Linked DNA regions of Homo sapiens: regions 1 and 3 are each linked to region 2. The links are contacts of gene promoters, found by promoter capture Hi-C in blood cells and fetal thymus (Javierre and others, 2016). All regions are on one chromosome and are shown on one strand. Each heading gives the region's core, a stretch centred on a gene start or on the middle of the fragment in contact. The rest is flanking DNA. Distances are from core to core; before and after follow the strand shown. Region 1 overlaps BTF3 (basic transcription factor 3). Region 2 holds the start of DIMT1 (DIM1 rRNA methyltransferase and ribosome maturation factor). Region 3 overlaps TNPO1 (transportin 1).

What was found. The method cuts DNA at HindIII sites, captures the fragments that hold promoters and counts their contacts. A CHiCAGO score of 5 or more calls a contact.
Region 1: a fragment that was not itself captured here is called in contact with the fragment with the promoter of DIMT1 in region 2 in 3 of 17 cell types (total CD4 T cells, naive CD8 T cells and fetal thymus); the score reaches 15.5 in total CD4 T cells.
Region 3: a fragment that was not itself captured here is called in contact with the fragment with the promoter of DIMT1 in region 2 in 1 of 17 cell types (activated CD4 T cells); the score reaches 6.1 in activated CD4 T cells.

What each region holds. Positions count from the first base shown.
Region 1 is chr5:73,500,267-73,503,126 of GRCh38, reverse strand. BTF3 (basic transcription factor 3) reads right to left here. Exons shown (of 6, transcript NM_001037637.2): 3 at 526-639; 4 at 10-211. Among named protein-coding and RNA genes, the nearest start is that of BTF3, 3.3 kb to the right of the region's middle. The HindIII fragment of the contact is 3,225 bases long and covers 1-2,860 here.
Region 2 is chr5:62,402,533-62,405,695 of GRCh38, reverse strand. It overlaps DIMT1 (DIM1 rRNA methyltransferase and ribosome maturation factor), which reads left to right and starts at 1,791. Exons shown (of 12, transcript NM_014473.4): 1 at 1,791-2,002; 2 at 2,350-2,423. The coding sequence starts at 1,924. RefSeq lists an enhancer at 1,581-1,870. The HindIII fragment of the contact is 1,140 bases long and covers 1,452-2,591 here.
Region 3 is chr5:72,840,367-72,843,203 of GRCh38, reverse strand. The region is part of intron 1 of TNPO1 (transportin 1); the gene reads right to left. Among named protein-coding and RNA genes, the nearest start is that of TNPO1, 25 kb to the right of the region's middle. The HindIII fragment of the contact is 2,189 bases long and covers 358-2,546 here.

The DNA.
Region 1 (2,860 bases), core at 268-2,767, about 11 Mb before region 2:
GAAACTCACATTGTTTGGGCAGAGCTTCGGCCAGTCTCCTTAAACTAGTCAGACTATCCGCACCAAGCTGGTTTAAGATGCTGGGTAGCATTTCTGTCAGCTGCTTTGTCTCAGCATGGCCTGTAATGGTGAAAGTGTTCGCTGCCAGAGATGCCTGAACTTTAGGGTTGTTAAAGTGGATCACTGTTCCTTGGTTTGTAAACATATTCACCTATTAAGAAAAGAAAAATTTAAATTAGCAATGCTGACCAGTCTCTTTAAAAACAAATGTTTTATTAAACTAAGTCTGGCTAACTAGTATTTCACTGTGAAGCACAGGTGAAATTTTGCCTGGAATGGAATATGTATTCTAATAGCATTCAGACTTAATGAGCTCCCTGATATTTATTAATTTATGGTAGAAACACATCTTAGGGACTTTGAAGTCCCTAAGTTAAAAAAAAAAAAAACAACCCATTTAATGCATTAACGTTAACTTTTCCCAGCCAAATCTTGTTTTTTAAAGTAACAAAATTTGATACTTGCCTCTTCAATACCAGAGATATTGTTTACCCCTAACTTCTTTAAGGAGAACTGAAGTTTTTTGTCATCTGCTGTGGCTGTTCTATGAACCACCTTCTTCTTTCTGCGAGCAGTTCCCTAAAGTCAGGGAGAAGAGGAAAGAAAACAGCACATTTATACCACAACAGATATTTTTCAAATGGGAATAGTTTCCAATTCATTTCTGACCTTTGGATCTGTATAAGAACATTACCATAATCATAAACTTATGCAGTGAGCAGGCAGGCTAAGGCGAAGATAGAAGCAAAAAATGGGAAAGGAAAAGAATGATCTTTTCAAAGTTCTACTTTTTACATTTGCTCTAAAAGTGATCAAAGAGGTAGCATGTGTCAATCTAAATTAAGCATTTGAAAGAATTCCACATCCAGAATTATTAACCTCTTCTGTTTTTTTTTTTTTTTTTTTTTGAGACAGGGTCTCACTGTGTCGTCCAGGCTGGAGTGGCGCAATCTCGGCTCACTGCAACCTCCGCCTCCCAGGTTCAAGTGATTCTCCTGCCTCAGCCTCCCGAGTAGCTGGGATTACAGGCACCACCATGCCTGGTTAATTTTTGTATTTTTAGCAGAGATGGGGTTTCACCATGTTGGCCAGGCTGGTCTCAAACTGCTGGCGTCAAGTGATCCGCCTGCCTCGGCCTCCCAAAGTGTTGGGACTACAAGTGTGAGCCACCGCGCCTGACCCCTTTTCTGTTTTTATATTAAATAAAAATCAACATCCAAATTAATATTTACAGGCAAGACAGTGTATGGAACAATCAAATGAATCTGTATATAGACTTCTATAGGACTCGATAGTAAAGTCTGAAGCCCTTACCTTAACTTACAAGAGCCCTACACAAACTGTCCTGCCCTTAATATGCCACTCCTGACTGCATCTGCTACCATCCCTCTTCTTTAGCCAATAAACCTTGGCTATTCTTTGAACAGGCCAAGCAGGCTATGACCCAAGGGCCTTTGCACATGCTGTTCCTCTCCTTCCGGAACATCTACATGGCTCTTTCCCTCACTGCAGATCTCTACTCTTATGTCACCTGATCAAAGTGGTCTTTCTCAACTACCCAAAGTAAAATAGCAACTTCCACACTCACTCATCAATTTCTTTCTATCCTGGTTTATTTCTCTTCATAACACTTATTACTATAAGAGATAAATACATTTTATCATCCATCTCCTCTCCCTAGAATGTAAGCTCCATAAGGACTTCTGTTTATTGCTATAAACCCAGTATCTACAACAGTATCTAGCTCACTGAAGGCACTCAAGGAAAGTCTATCACACCCAACCACCTCACCGTCCCCCAACCTCCATCCCTATTCCTATTCATCCTTTAAAATCTTATTCAAGTCATTACCTCCTGTTTGCCTTTCCTAAATTCTGCAATTACCCCCTTTCCCTATGCCAAATCATTCCCATCTCTAGATTTTGAAAATGCTTCTACTATTGTACTATGTATATTACACTGTGAAAGAAGATTTTTTTAAGAAAAGACAATTATCGCCACTGCTAGGCTTAAAGCCCACCTAGGGACTTTAAACTTCTTAAAATTTTATATTCTCAGGATCCAACATAGTAAAGGCTTAAATAAATCTTGTTATTTAACTGAAGAAAATATCTATGGCTACAAAAAAAAAAAAAAAGTACTGGTTACTAACCTCTCCAAACTATTAAGTACAAAAATCACTTTGAAATGGTCATGTATGTATCTGGTTTCCAAAGAAATCTTCTCTAAGAAACTCAAAGGAATTTCTAAGATTGTAAAGACAAACCCAGCATACTTTCTAGAGGTTTCATACACTTCACATATGTAGAGTTCAATTTTCACTTAAATAATTATTATTAATGCTGTGATTAGATATGAAAATAAAGGGCTTTTGTAACATTTACCTAAGAGCACCTAACACCTGCAGTTTTCTCTAAAGCAAAATTAACTCACCTAATTTCACATCCCATAATAAGTACGTTTCTTAAACAGTGTAGAAATGTTTCCATATTGTGACTACAGAAATACTTCTTGTATTATTAGCTAAACGAGTATTAAGATGTTAGGACACAAAATTTAATCTTGTTATCAGCTTTAAATATCCTAGCAAATCTCAAGATTTCCTTTACCCTAAAATGATGTCTCCCAAAGTTAAAGCCTAATGATGAGAGTAACAACAAAAAGACTGCACATAAGCACATTATTCAAATTACTCCTTCTGAAACTGTACTGAAAGTAAGAGTGGTTAAAAACACCAATATAAGAGCATCCAAACACTGAGACACAAAAAATTTGAGTTTTGCTGGCACTTGAAGGCCAC
Region 2 (3,163 bases), core at 542-3,041:
GTCATGTTAATTTTTTTTTTTTAAACAGGGTATCATGCTGTCGCCCAGGTTGGTGCAATCTTGGCTCACTACAAATTCTCGGGCTCAAGTGAGGCTCCCACCTCAGCTTCCCGAGTAGCTGAGACTACAGGCCTGCACCACCACGCCTGGCTAATTTTTGTATTTTTTGTAGAGACGGGGTCTCACTTTGTTGCCCAGGTTGATCTCAAACTTCTCAGCTCAAGTGATCCGCTCGCCTTGGCCTCTCAAAGTGCTGGGATTACAGGCATGAGCCACCTCTCCAGGCCATGTCCATCCTATTAACATTTGGAAGTGCCTAGCACAGTGTACTCTTTAGAATTGTGGAATAACAATGATTGATGAAATGAAACATATACTTGAAGATGCTACTAGGGTATACGAGATTTTTTTTCTGACTTAGAACTACATCAAAGAAAGAAGGGCCTAAGACCAAGGTTTGGGAATGTACACAATGAATTGCTCAAAAGAGAGTTAGCTTTAGTAATGACAGGAAGAAGCTATTTCTTCAACCAAACAGAATACACACAGAAAAATTTAAAAGAGCCATTACACTGGCTGGCAAAACAGATGTGGATATTATGGCCCTGGTACACACGGAGTTTATAGTCAGGTACACTGTCCTGTCACAACGACCAATACGTTATCGTATTTACAGCGTTTTGGAGTTTCTGTCCATCTCTGTCAATATAATACACTTTGAAATAAGTTTCTTACTTAGAATCCCTAGCAGTGTTTGATACACAGTTGGAGCTCAATAAATGTTTACGGAGTGAATGATGAGGCACAAAAGGAATTTGTTGAATTATTTGTTAAATGAATCAAATAATTTTCTAGGATTCACGGGCTGTCTTCTGCACGATAAGCTTCATTCTGTGGGTCTGAGTTTCTCCTGGTTCTCAATTCTGTCTTTTTGTGGATTATCTACTTTGTAGCTGGAGCTTTGTATCTGTTTAAGATAATTATTCTTCTATTCCTTTTTTTTTTTTTTTTTTTTTGAGACGGAGTCTCGCTCTGCCGCCCAGGCTGGAGTGCAGTAGCGCGATCTCGGCTCACTGCAACCTCCGCCTCCTGGGTTCACGCCACTCTCCTGCCTCAGTCTCCCAAGTAGCTGAGACTACAGGCGCCCACCACCACGCCCGGCTAATTTTTTGTATTTTTAGTAGAGACGGGGTTTCCCCGTGTTAGCCAGGATGGTCTCGATCTCCTGACCTTGTGATCCGCCCGCCTCTGCCTCCCAGAGTGCTGGGATTACAGGCGTGAGCCTCCGCGCCCGGCTCTTCTATTCTTAGTAGAAGCAACCAGTAGCCCTAGCGAAACCAGACGTTAATTCCATTCTCGCAGTTCTTTTCCCCAGGGCAAGCAGCAAAAAATGCATTCCCACAAAAGAGCAAGCTCATCCCCAAATCCCGGGTTTCCCACCCCCACAAGCTTCAGGAAAACAGGAGCGAGGCACGTGAATACTTCTTTGGACCTCAGCGATCCCAGAACCTAGGCTACTAAAACATCCATAGGCTTAACCTCATCATATAACTTAAACAGCCTTCGCAACACCGAGAGCACCACACCAACACCTTCTTATCCAGCCCTGGTTGGGACAAGGGCTCCAACTCCAGACTGCAGTCCTCGGTAGCGCGGTGTCTTCTGGGATCTGTAGGCTCCCGCGGTTCGGCCTTCCTCCCTCTGTGACTCCAATTCCCGGCAGTCAGTGGGCTCCAAGGTCCGCCCTTTTTCTGGAGGAGGAGCTCAGAGCGTACGGGAGGGGGCGGACCCTTGCCCCTCCGGCGCTTGGGCCAGAGTGGTGCGGGCGGCGCGTGGCGGCGATCCCCACGTGGTGGCTTTCTCACGCTAGCCCTCTTTGGTCCTCCTTGACGTCCCGGGCCTGTGGGCCCGCTTTCTGCCGAGATGCCGAAGGTCAAGTCGGGGGCCATCGGCCGCCGCCGCGGGCGGCAGGAGCAGCGCCGGGAGCTGAAGAGCGCTGGAGGTGCGGATCCCCGCGAGGAAGCTGGGGTCGGTCGGGTCAGGTCTTCCGGCAGGACCTAGCCTGGGGTGCGGACCAAGACCTGATCGGCAGAGGCCGGTCAGGACGCGCTCCCGTGAGCGCGGAAGGCAGGGGTGGGTCCCCGACTCGGCCGCAGGCCCTGCGCGTCGCCGCTGACTTCCTTTCCAGCTGGAGGATGAACTTATAAAGAGTTTGTCAGTCCTGGCGTGACGTTTCGTGGCCCTGGTTGGCGCAGAAATCTTCCCCATACCCATGCAGCTTTCTTCTCTGGTACTGCCTAATATCTAATCTCAGTAGGAAAATTAATGCTGTTTCGTATTTTCTTACAGGACTCATGTTCAACACGGGGATTGGGCAGCACATTTTGAAAAATCCTCTCATTATTAACAGCATTATCGATAAGGTGGGTGTGGAAGAGGAAAGGGAGAGAGTTGTTGGTTTATTAATTTTATTCCTATGAATACATAAGCGCAGAAAGTCTGCCTGCCGTAAATTAGATGCTCTGTAAATATTTGTTGAATGAATCAAATAATTGTCTAGGATTCTTGGGCTGTCTTCTGCATGATAAGCTTCATTTTGTGGGTCTGAGTTTCTCCTGGTTCCCAATTCTGTGTCTTTTTGTGGATTATCTACTTTATAGCTGGACCTTTGTATTTGTTCAAGATAATTATTCTTCTATTTCTAATCACCTTTTTGATCACTTAGTTTTTATGTACTCCATCTATTTATGTCTAAACTACACATTAGAAAGTTTGTTCCCCAGAAAAACATATAGTACTACATATAAATTATTTGGTGTATGCTAGTACCACATATAAATTGCTTGGAGTATTACTGCTTTCTGAGTTATTGATGTTCTCTTATGGTTATGGATGATTGGGTGTTAGGAAGTGAAATACACACGGTGCAGATTACACTTATGGTTAAAAGCAAGGAAAGCATCCTGGAGCTGTAGAAAGAGCATTACATAGTTAAAGGATCTTGTCAGGCTTCGTGTCATTTGAAAACTGAGAAAAAAAGAAAGAAGGGTCATGTACTATTTTAACCTTTTTAGCTCATAGTTTCCTTTGAGCATCTGATGAAAGCTATGGCCGTAGAATATTAGAGCTGTGTGCAGACATTCAATTTTGTGTACAGTTTCTG
Region 3 (2,837 bases), core at 203-2,702, about 10 Mb before region 2:
TTCTTACACCTTTGTGACTATCTAACAAGACATTTACAAGTCATACAAAGCTAGGACAATTCTTCATGGTGAACATCTAGCACTCTCAGCCCTGCCCAGTAAATGACAAGAGCACCTCCCAGTCACTAGGACACCTCCAGAGAGCAGCACTGCCTCAGTGGAGAATGACTATGGTAAATGACTAAGGGCTGTGAAAACATTATGCTAACCCAGTTAGGAGGTCAAGAAAGGACTTCCTTGAGGAAGTGACTCTTTATCAGAAATCTAACAGGAATTATCAAAAAGCAAAAGTGAGGCTAGGAGGACCTCATAGATGATGTTAAGAAGCTTGGACTATCTTAAGGATAATACAAAGCTTGTGAAAGGGGTTTAAATTGATAAAAAACATGATCAAAGTCTGGAAAAGAATTAATCCTCCTAGACATGGGGAAGGAGAGGTTCATCTTTTGTTCTATAGCTTTAATATTAGGTTAATTTTTAGAATGTGTCATATTTCAATAAAAATGATTTTTAAAACCCATCAGTTTGCAATGAGGGCAGGAGGAGCCATAGGAAGACCTAACTGTCCAATCTGCATATAAAATGGAATTCCAGTTTGTTAGGGGAAGGGCAGTCCTGTTTCACAGAGAGCCAAGATGCTACCAAAAACTCTGGTACTTAAATATTGAAGACTTAAACACATGCACTATTTTGTTAGTAATAGTGATAGCTAATATTTTTGAGTGCCAAGCAGTGTTCTAAGCACTTCACAACTCTATGATGCTGCTCTATTAATTACATTTTACAAATAAGTACATTGAGGCACAGAGAAGTTACTTGCCTAAGGTTGGTCAGCTAGTAAATGCCAAAGCCATGATTCAAACCCAACTAATCTGGCTCCAGTGTCCAGTCTGGAAGCCCCTGATATACTGCCTTTCCAAAAGAAACATCAATCTCCATAAACTGGGAAACTACTCATAAATACAACCATGTGCATACGAAAGAACATATATTTTGATACCTTTGTGGTGAGGTAAAAGAGAAAAGTAAAATCACACTTCACCATCATAAAAGTCATAATAGATCTAAAAAACCAGTAGTATGTATATAGTATGACAATATAATAAAAATGAGGTATTCTCATAGCATTGAGTAAATGAGTTAAAAACATTCTAAATATAATCTTCACAACACCCCTCTGTTGTAAGTAGGTAGCAAGTATTATTTTTATTTGACAAGCAGATAAATCAAAACAGCTTAAGAAATTTGCTGAATCATTTGCTGAATGTGAATCAGATATGTAGACTTCCACAGAAAATCTCTCTTATACTGTTTTTTTTTTTTACAGAAAAATGCTATGATGAGCAAGGAGAAAAAAAATCAGAGCTATCCAATGATCTAAAAAGAGCATGCTATTTAAAGAATACAATTATTTAATAAAACTTTCATGAGAAATTGAACCAAAGTTCAGGTATGAAGGGAAAGAAGGAAAAGTTTACAGGCACCTAATGATGAATCAAAACGTTGACAAACTTGTTAAATTATAGCTATCAGTGGAACTAGAAAGTCCTTTAAGAAAGTCTATAGGCTGGGCGCGGTGGCTCATTCCTGTAATCCCAGCACTTTGGGAAGCCGAGGCGGGCGGATCACAAGGTCATGAGTTCGAGACCTGGTGAAACCCCGTCTCTACTAAAAAAATACAAAAATTAGCCAGGCGTGGTGGCATGCCCCTGTAATCTCAGCTACTTAGGAGGCTGAGGCATGAGAATTGCTTGAACCTGGGAGGTGGAAAAAAAAGTCTATAATGAGCCGGGCGCGGTGGCTCACGCCTGTATTCCAGCACTTTGGGAGGCTGAGGCGGGTGGATCGCCTGAGGTCAGGAGTTCGAGACCAGCCTGGCCAACATGGTGAAACCCCATCTCTACTAAAAATACAAAACATTAGCTGGGTGTGGTAGCGGGCGCCTGTAATCCCTACTAGGGAGGCTGAGGCAGGAGAATCTCTTGAACCAAGGAGGTGGAGCTTGCAGTGAGCCAAGATTGTGCCATTGCACTCCAGCCTGGGCAACAAGAGGGAAATTCGGTCTCCAAAAAAAAAAAAAAAAAGAGAGAGAGTCTAAAACCAGAGGTTATGGATCAAGAAGGAAGAGAAAAAAATGCAAAACTAACTGTTGAGCTCATATTAGTTACGGAAATGAGCTCAACTAGATTAGAAGGACAGGGACCATAACTCATGTTACACAGTGCTAGGCACATGGGGTTTAAATCATCCTCGATTGAGACTGATGGGTAAATCATCTAGTTCACCACTTGAAAATAGGCTAAGACGTTAAAATTTTAACTTTCTGGCATTACAAAGTTATTGTCATCTAGGAGTTTAGAGATTAACAGAACACAGAAAATGGAAAATAGGTACTAAGGAAAGTTTGAATAAATGTATGCTTAGAGTGTCTTTTCTGGAAGAACTTTGAAGATGACTAGACATGCTTACTAAATGCTAGTTAAAGTTTACAAATCAACATTAAAAAAAAGAGTGTGGTATCAAATTGAGTGATAAGAAGGAAAGCTTGATCTCAAAATTTGACCCAATCTATAACCAGACACTTCCTATACTTTAGCCCATTTAATATTCACAACAGCACTATGAGGTAGATGTTAACTCCATTTTATATTAACCGAGGTTCAGAGAGGTTAAGTAGCTTGCCCAGCTAGTATGTGGCAGATTAGGCATTCAAAACCAAACCTGTGTGATTCCAAAGTCTGAACCATGCCTACTAATAACAGCAACCCTGTTATCATTAATGGGTCCTTCCATGTGCCAGTTATTATGTTAAATTCTTTAAATACATGATCTCATTT